Regions from separate parts of the Homo sapiens genome. Here region 2 is linked to region 1. Evidence: promoter capture Hi-C in 16 types of primary human blood cells and fetal thymus (Javierre and others, 2016). All regions are on one chromosome and are shown on one strand. The core of a region is centred on a gene start or on the middle of the fragment in contact, and the rest is flanking DNA. Distances in the headings are between cores, read along the strand shown. Region 1 holds the start of ZNF22 (zinc finger protein 22). Region 2 has its middle 4.2 kb from the start of ZFAND4.

Region 1 (4,502 bases), core at 1,059-3,558:
CCAGAGAAGGTGGAGCAAACCCTCAGGAATAATCATGCCTCAGGAATCTCACGTGAGATCCTCAAATGCTGCAAACAGTGCCTGGCACACAATAAGCACTCAATAAGTGTTAACTATTATTATACTAACAGCTAGGCTGAAGGCATAAAACCCTACCTGCTTTCTCTCCCTGTCTTTTTCCCATTCTCCTTTACCCTCCTCTCCTTCATATATTTTTCTGGCTCTCCCTCCTCTCCATCCTTACTGCCCAGGACTCTGTCCACACTTAGGGACACACACCCCTTTATTTCCTGACTTTCGTCTCTCTCTTTTTAAAAAATCCATCCTCGTTTACCCAATGCTTTAGTTGACATACCTCTGGCCCTTCTATGGCTGGCCCAGTTGTTTTCAGGTATAGGAAAAAGGGATAATCCATCTTTATGTAGACATTAAAGGAGTTAGTTTTAATTAGTAACTACCTTACTAACAAAATGGCTTTTTAAAAATTATCTTTTTATTTTAGTGTACATAGAGCAGACAGTCCCAACGGGTCATGTTTGCTCCTGACGCTTTTCCTAAACCATTTCTAGATCTCTGGCCATTGCCCTTTACCCCAAACTCTCCAACCACCAGCATCAACCAACTTATAACAATTTAATAATAAAAGTAACAACGACTCTCATTTCTTCTGTGTTATACATTGTGCTAAGTGCCTTACATTACCTCATTTAATCACTGCAATAGTCCAGATACTCTCTAGATTGCGAGTGGAGCTTCTTTGTCCAGACCTCATTCAGCTTTGTGCTTTGCCATATGCAGAGACAGCTCCCTACAGAGCAGAAAGCCCCAACTTAAGAGAATGAACCTATGACTTAGTTTAGCCTCCACCAACAAACCACTGTATTACTTCAGGCAGGTCAGCCTCTCTTGCTTCAGTTTACTGATTTGCAAGACAGATATGATAATCTGTGCTTCATGAGACTATGGTGAAGATGAATAACCAGAAGATAAGATGTAAAAGTACTTTGTAAACAATAAGGCATCTTATAAATTCATTCATTCAACAGCTATTTACTGAGTGTCTGTTCCCTGCTGAGCACTGTTTTCAGCACTGCAGACACAATAAAGAACTAAAGAGACAGATCATGAGAGGCATCGGGTGCCACTGCGAGGTCCTTGGCTTTGCTCTAATAAGTTGGGAAGCCTTTGAAGGTTTTGAACAAATGAATGACATGATCTAACTTAGGTTTAAGAGGATTACTCTGGGGCCGTGAATAGACTGTAGGGCAACCCGTCTGGAAGCCAATATAATAATCCAGAAGGTGGATGAAGGTGGCTTGGTGGTTATAGCAGTGGAAGTGTTGAAAGTGGCTTGATAATGAATATATTTTAACGATGAAGCCGACAGAATTTGTGGATAAATCACAGGTGAATTTTGGATGAAAAAAAGAAGAGACAACAGTGACATCAAGGTTTTTGGCTTGAGCAACTGGAAAGATGATGGGATCTTCACCCATCCCTGGGAAGAAGACTGTTGCAAGAACAGGTTAGGTAGATATCAGGAATTCATTTGGGGGGTATGTTAGGTTTGGGATGTCCATTACACATGCAAATGCAGCTCTTGAGTAATCAGTTCGATATACAAGTCTAAAGTTCAATAACATTTATGTCCCACAGTCAGACTGGAGTTACCAATGCGGGAGTCTTCAGCATGCAGCAATAGCATTGGAAGCCAAAAGGCGGAGGAGCTCCCCAGGGAGTGGGGGAACACGGAGGTCAGCTGGTCAGATGACTGAGCACGGCCAGGATGGCTGAGGAGGAGCCTGGAAGGAATAAGAACAAAGAGAGATCATTACTAATGAGCAACAAAAGGGGTGTGTTGAAATCAGACTTTGGAGCCACAAAGAACCATTCCAATTCTGGGTCGTCCGCTTACACACGGTGAACGGAGCACATTTCTTCTCTGAGCCTTGGTTCCTTTCCTGTAAATGGAGTATAACCACTCCCATCTTGCAGGAGCTTTTTGGTGATAATTAAGGTGACTTCGTGAAAAGTACCAGGGTCTCAAAAATCTCAAAATTTGTGGAAAGTATGCAGTTTCTAGGTTGGAGAGGCTAGAGTTTGGTTTCAAAAGCCTCGACCACACACAGGGGCGGTTACAGCTCTTGAGGTCCCGGGGGTCACAGGACGCCTTCCGAGTTGGGGGGAGGAGAAAACAAAACCACAGGAAGAAACGAACAACGCTTTCGGGTGGGCCCGGGACCATAGAGGGTCGCTCCGCCACTTTCCTAGAGCGACCGCGGCGGCGCCAGAGCGCGGCGAGGCCCTCACTTCCGGCGGCGCGGGAGGCGCCCAGCGAGCCAGAGTGGTGGCTGGTCCCGCGCGGTGAGTGGGATTGGGGCACTTGGGGCGCTCGGGGCCTGCGTCGGATACTCGGGTCCGCTCGGGAGCGCGCTGGCCGCAACGAGGGCGGCGCGGGCCCGGGCGATGGCGTGGCTTGCGTCTCCCGCCTCCGGGCAGGGCCTGGCCGCCGGGCGGGGGCGGGAGGGCCACGCGGGCCCAGGGTGGGGCCGCGGCCTGCGCGGCGGGCGGGCCGGGTCAATGAGGAGCGGCCGGCGGAGTGCTGGGAACGGGAGGCTTGGACTGGGGGCCCGGGCGAGGCGCGGCCCGCGGCGGGTGGAACTGGGCGGGTGAGCAGCAGCCCCGGCCCCTTCCGTCGCTCGGAGCGTTCGAGGACTAGATACGTGGAACAAATGCTTAGGCAGCACAGGGCTGCTCTGAGCGGTTTTCAGATTCAGACTCATTGCAACTTCTAACATCTTGATGGTGTTGCCACTTTATCATTACCCTCCCCATTTTACGAGGAAACTGAGGCACATTCCAGTTAGCTGGGTGTGCAAGAACAGCAGCTTCTGTCACTCAGGTTTAACTTCGTGCTTGCCCCTGCTGGGGAGCTATGCAAAGCACGGGTCGCCGCGCTGGACTGAGCAATGGAAGATGTGGCTGCCACTAAGAGTACAGGCTCTGGAGTCAAACTGCTAGGGTCTGGGAACCCGGCCAGTGCCTTCTAGCATTGTGCCCTCGTTTCCTTAACTTAAAACGGAAATAACTGCATAAAGGTGCCAGGAGAATTAAAGAGCTAGCACAGAATCAAGTTACACAGTGTCTGGCACATACTAGTATGATTGCCTCATCCGTAGGTGGATTTGACAGTCTGAGTTTCTGACTAGATCTGACTTCCATTGTATTAAATGCGTGTGCTTTTATGTATAATGACCATTATAGTTATTAAAAAAAAAAAAAAGCAACACCAACACCATGTACCTAACACAATGTCTCCTGTGTGGTAGATGTTCTGTAAATATTTGCTTAAGTTAAGGAGTGGGTAGTCCTAACTGTAATCTTGTGTTATATGCGGCTTACTCTTACGCTGACCATAATTACAGCTGATGTAATTATTAAATATCCAGATAAAGTCCTGGACCTAAAGTCTCAATTATACAATAAGATGAAAGGAAGGCAAGAAAAATTATGTTTTTGTTTTCATTTATTTGCTTTATATGTTTGTATGCAAAGAAACCCAGAATAATTGTTTCTATTTTAAATTCCACATTCTGACACAAGATAATGAAAAATAGTTCCAATAATTTTATTGCTTTTGAAGTTCTAGATTTTCCGACATTGCCACCTATGTGGGGTTTGTAGGGGTTTTTGTTGGTTTGTTTTGGCCGTTATTTTAAATAGCCACAAGTCAGCCTTATAAATAAATAAAATCATTTGAAATTTTGAATTTTGCAGCATTTGGGTATTCTAAAAATTCCATCCTAGTTTTACATGTAAACTCATTTTCTCCCCCCTCTCCTTTTCTTGTGTCCTACCTACCATGCGTTTTCTACTCAGTTTCATTCCACTTTCTGGTAAAAGTTCTTTTGCAGTTTTTCTGTCTCCGAAAACAGTACTTTCGTTTTGGGTTTTCAACAAATTGCTTTCTTGGATCATTAGGATCTATAAAAACCAATAATAAAGCGTGTCTTCATAGACTAAGTAAACCTACCACTCCCTGTAGAGAAGTTTCAATTTTCAAAACACTTTATGCTACAGAATTAGAGCTAAACTGTCATCTAGAGCTATGGAAATCGAATGCTAAATACAGATAAACAGGAATATATCATAAAGTAGTGTAATTTGTCATTTCTTATTCATTTGGATACCTTAGGCAGTTACTAGTTAGTAGAAGTTTAACATGGAACTAAATATTAAAGCATAGTAATGTTCTGTTACACAAATTTTGATTGTCTTTTGGAGTTACTCCATTCCCATTAAGATTTACCTTATCTCCACTTTTTAGTTCTTCAAAATTATGTACTCATTTGGTAATGCTTGGAAGATTTATATTTCACCTGATCACTTTTAATTTGTCTTGTCCCAATAGACAGAAACTCCAGTGGTAAACTCAGTCAAAATTTGGTGATATTTGTTAAGCTTAAACTCTGGAATTGTTAGAATTACTTTGCAAGTATTTC
Region 2 (4,502 bases), core at 519-3,018, 680 kb after region 1:
AGCTGAACAAAATCTTTGACTCTGGGTATGAGTAATTCCCTGTCTGATCTTACAGTGCCCAAGGAAGAAGTCAGTAGCTCCAGGATCGCTGAGACCAACCTGGGCGGCCTACAAGACTGCACCATGGTGACAGGCTGAATAGTCAGCAGCAAGACGACAGAGCACCAAAAAACACAGACTAGAATGGGGTCAGCCATCCAGGTGGCTAGTGGCTACTGCCTTTGACGATGCAGATAAAGAAAATTTTCATTCCTGCAGAGTTCTATGGGGCAGTGCTGCTCTAGAGGCTGACATTTCTATCCTCAGCACTTCCCCCGGCTATTACCTAGGTTCATTCTGCTGCTTCCACAAGGCAAGAATGGAACAGAATGCCTTAGAGCAATGGTCAGCGAACTGTTTATGTAAAGGGGCAGGGCCAGGCGCAGTGGCTCACGCCTGTTATCCCCGCACTTTGGGAGGCCGAGGCAGGTGGATCACGAGGTCAGGAGTTCAAGACCAACCTGGCCAACATGGTGAAACCCCAACTCTACTAAAAATACAAAAATTAGCTGGGTGTGATGGCAGGCGCCTGTAATCCCAGCTACTCGGGAGGCTGAGGCAGGAGCATCGCTTCAACCCAGGAAATAGAGGTTGCAGTGAGCCAAGATCACATGACTGCACTCCAGCCTGGGTGACAGAGCAAGACTCCGTCTCAAAAAAATAAATAAAAGGGGCAGATAGAAAACATCTGAGGCTCTGTGAGCCATCCGGTCTCGTCATAATTACTCAACTCTTACATTGGAGGTAGGGTGAAAGCAACAATAGAAAGTAAGTAAATCAATGAATGTGGTTGTGTTCCAATAAAACTTTATTAACAAGATCAGACAGTGGGGGGGGGGGGGTAGCATAGTTTGCCAAACGAAAATCCAATAAAAATTTATTAAAGATTTAAATGTGGCCAAGCGTGGTGGCTCATGACTGTAATCCCAGCACTTTGGGAAGCGGAGGCGGGTGGATCACAAGGTCAGGAGGTCGAGAACATCCTGGCCAACATGGCAAAACCCTGTCTCTACTAAAAGCACAAAAATTAGCTGGGCGTGGTAGCGCGTGCCTATAGTCCCAGCTACTCAGGAGGCTAAGGCAGGAGAATCACTTGAACCCGGGAGGCGAAGGCTGCAGTGAGTCGAGATCGCACCACTGCACTCCAGCCTGGGCAACAGAGCGAGACTCTGTCTCCAAAAAAAAAAAAATCAAAAAACAACATTTAAGTGTAAGACCTGAAATGAGAAAACTTTTCTTTTAGGTTTTTGTCTAGAAGTTTCTAGGTATTGATCTTGACAATAATTTACAGAATATGTCACAAAAGTGGAGACATGAAAAGCCAAACTAAACATGGGACAATGCCAAATTGAAAACCTTCACAGCAAAGAAACCAATGAACAAATTAAAAAGCTTTTTAACAATTATCCAAAATACCTAAAGAACTTGTATTAATAAATAGGAAAAAAAACTGAAACAAAACAGAAAAGCATCAAAAAGCTTAAAAATAAGCAGATTTGGCCGGGCACGGTGGCTCATGCCTGTAATCCCAGCACTTTAGGAGGCCGAGGTGGACGGATAACCTGAGGTCGGGAGTTCGAGACCAGCCTGACCAACATGGAGAAACCCTATCTCTACTAAAAATACAAAATTAGCCGGGCATGGTGGCACATACCTGTAATCCCAGCTACTAGGGAGGCTGAGGCAGAAGAATCTCTTGAGCCCGGGAGGCGGAGGTTGTGGTGAGCCAAGATCATGCCACCAGTCTGGGCAACAAGAGCTAAACTCCGTCTCAAAAAAAAAAAAAAAAAAACATGTTCAGCAAGGTTGAAGCATCAAAGGTTAATAGCCAGAATCATTTATCAATTGTATTTCTACACATCTGCAAGACACAATCTGAAAATGAAATTAGAAAAACAACTTCATTGGGCAACAAGAGCAAAACTTCATCTCAAAAAAAAAGAAAAAAAAAATAGTAATCTACAATGTCATTTCCTGTTCAAGCTTGACTTCTACCTTTACTTTCTGATATGGTTTTGCCATGTCCCCCCACCCACATCTCATCATGAATTATAATCCCCATAATCCTGATGTGTCGAGGGAGGGGCCTAGGGGGAGGTGATTGGATCACGGGGGCAGTTATCCTCATGCTGTTCTTGTGATATTCAGTAAGTCCTCATGAGATCTTATAGGGTTTTGTTTTGTTTTGTTTTTTGGATGGAGTCTTGCTCTGTCACCCAGACTGCAGTACCATGGCGCGATCTTGGCTCACTGCAGCCTCTGCCTCCTGGGTTCCAGTGATTCTCCTGCCTCAGCCTCCTGAGTAGCTGGGATTACGGGCATGCGCCACCACACCCAGCTAATTTTTGTATTTTTAGTAGAGACGGGATTTCACTAAGTTAGCTAGGCTGGTCTCGAACTCCTGACCTCAGTTGATCCACCTGCTTTGGCCTCCCAAAGTACCAGGGTTACAAGTGTGAGCCACCAAGCCCAGCTGAGATCTGATGGTTTTACACATGTTTGACAGTTGCTCCTTCACATGTTCCCACTCTCTGTGCGGCCACCATGTAAGTCGGACCTGGTTCCCCTTCTGCCATGATTGTAAGTTTCCTGAAGCCTACCCAGCCATGCGAAACTGTGAATCAATTAAACCTGTTTCCTTTATAAATTATCCAACCTCAGGTATTTCTTTATATCAGTGTGAAACAGACTAATGTGCTTTCCGATAATCATGCTTCAGGAATTGGGGAATTCAGACTACCTGGGATCAAATTGTGGCCCCAACCTTAGCAGCCATGTGACCTTGGGGAGGTTACTTACCTTCTCCATCTCAACTCCTTCAGTAAAATCTGTAAAATGACATTGTTTCTGAGGGTTAAATGAGCATAGCACAGTGTCAGGCACACACTACTTGCCAGATGTCGAGTATTCATCTTTATTGAAATAGGACTGTGGTAAGCCACTTTATGGCTCTCGATTTTGTATGAGAAAATCATGCTTAGTGCCTTGTTAGTAAAAGAAAGAAAACCTGAAAGTCCCTGCCACGGAAGGAAGAAATAGCGGGGAGAAAAGGGAGTTGGTAAGTTTCAGCATTTCAGAGCTTGGAGAGGGACAAGTTAGGTTTCCATTTTATGGAGAAGGAGGTGGAGGCAGGATGGGTCCTAAGGTGTCATTCAAAACACACAGCCATAACTCTTTATTGAGAGTAGCGCTAGGGCCCCAGGGATTGCTGTGGTCAAGTTGCGGACAAAAATGACCACTCGTTGGAAGACAGGAGAGGAGTGTTTAGTTACAAAAGCAGTCAACAATTCAGGTGTATCTATATTCAGACAGCAAATAAAAGTTGTTCAACTTGGTTGCTAATGGGACCCACTCTACTGAGGCTTTGTATAGAACTCATAGAGGAAGATGGCTTCAAGGAATGAACTACCCTGTGCTTTTCTTAGGACTAAAATCTCAGGAAGCTGGTGATGAATGAAAACCTTAGTCCCACTGGCACTGCACGAGGGGCCAGGAGAGCAGCAGCATCATAAGCCGCAGGGTGGGGCAGCCAAGGCAGGGGCATTCTGAGCTGTTGGGGAGGGGTGGCAGGCAGGGTGGGGCACTGTGAGCTGTCGGGGAGGGCATTGTGAAGTGTGGGGTGGGGCATTGTGTGCCACATGCCTGGGCTCCCACCTGGGGCCAGTGGGCTTCAGTCTGTAGGTGACTACAGAAGGAGGAGGAGCTCCGTCTGTTCTCTCTTCAGGCAGTTGTTGTGTCTCTCAGCACTTGTTGGGTTCACAACCTATTAAATAAGCCGGCTGGTCTTCACCCTCCCAGACAAGTCAACTCAGGGGAGGCAGCAGGGTGCGGGCCTTGGCCAGGGCCAGGGCCAGGGCCAGGGCCAGGGCTGGTGCCCGGGGCCGCGCTGTGAGGTGGGCAGGCGAGGAGCGGGAAGACCATCTCTGCAAGTGCAGCATAGCCTCGGCCTAGGACAGCGGGAGTGCGTGGCCAAAGCTGTGAGCAGAGGCACAGGTGGTGGCAGACAGTAGAGGCACCCCATGGGGAACATACTGACCTGTCGTGTGCACCCTAGCGTCAGCCTCGAGTTTGACCAGCAACAGGGGTCGGTGTGTCCCTCTGAATCTGAGATCTATGAGGCAGTAGCTGGGGACAGGATGGCAGGAGCGCCCATGGCTGCTGCTGTGCAGCCTGCTGAGGTGACTGTTGAAGTTGGTGAGGACCTCCACATGCACCACGTTCGTGACCGGGAGATGCCTGAAGGTAAGGAGGTGATAGGTGCCATCTACCCTCGGTTTGCCTCTGGCTGCTGCTGTCCCCAAGGTTCCCTTTGAGGCATCCCCCACTTTGAGCTCCTTTCTGCTTGTAGCCAGCTTTTCCGGGGGCTGGCCAGGAACAAAAGCTGGCTCTGCCTTGAATTCCCACCCCTTAGTCTTTCCCCACCAAGTCCAGTCAGTTTCTTTTCGCCTCCCCTCCCAATCGCC

What was found. The method cuts DNA at HindIII sites, captures the fragments that hold promoters and counts their contacts. A CHiCAGO score of 5 or more calls a contact.
Region 2: a contact is called between a fragment that was not itself captured here and the fragment with the promoter of ZNF22 in region 1, in 2 of 17 cell types (M2 macrophages and fetal thymus). The highest score is 6.7, in M2 macrophages.

The regions. Positions count from the first base shown.
Region 1 is chr10:44,998,615-45,003,116 of GRCh38, forward strand. ZNF22 (zinc finger protein 22) reads left to right here and starts at 2,309. Exons shown (of 2, transcript NM_006963.5): 1 at 2,309-2,364. LOC124902530 reads left to right here. Exons shown (of 3, transcript XM_047426129.1): 3 at 2,166-3,769. The coding sequence ends at 2,795. ZNF22-AS1 (ZNF22 antisense RNA 1) reads right to left here and starts at 2,189. Exons shown (of 4, transcript NR_126421.2): 1 at 1,916-2,189; 2 at 1,672-1,802; 3 at 703-808. RefSeq lists a silencer at 2,349-2,698 and an enhancer at 2,425-2,925. The HindIII fragment of the contact is 6,687 bases long and covers 1-4,459 here.
Region 2 is chr10:45,674,760-45,679,261 of GRCh38, forward strand. It overlaps the pseudogene AGAP10P. Among named protein-coding and RNA genes, the nearest start is that of ZFAND4, 4.2 kb to the left of the region's middle. The HindIII fragment of the contact is 504 bases long and covers 1,517-2,020 here.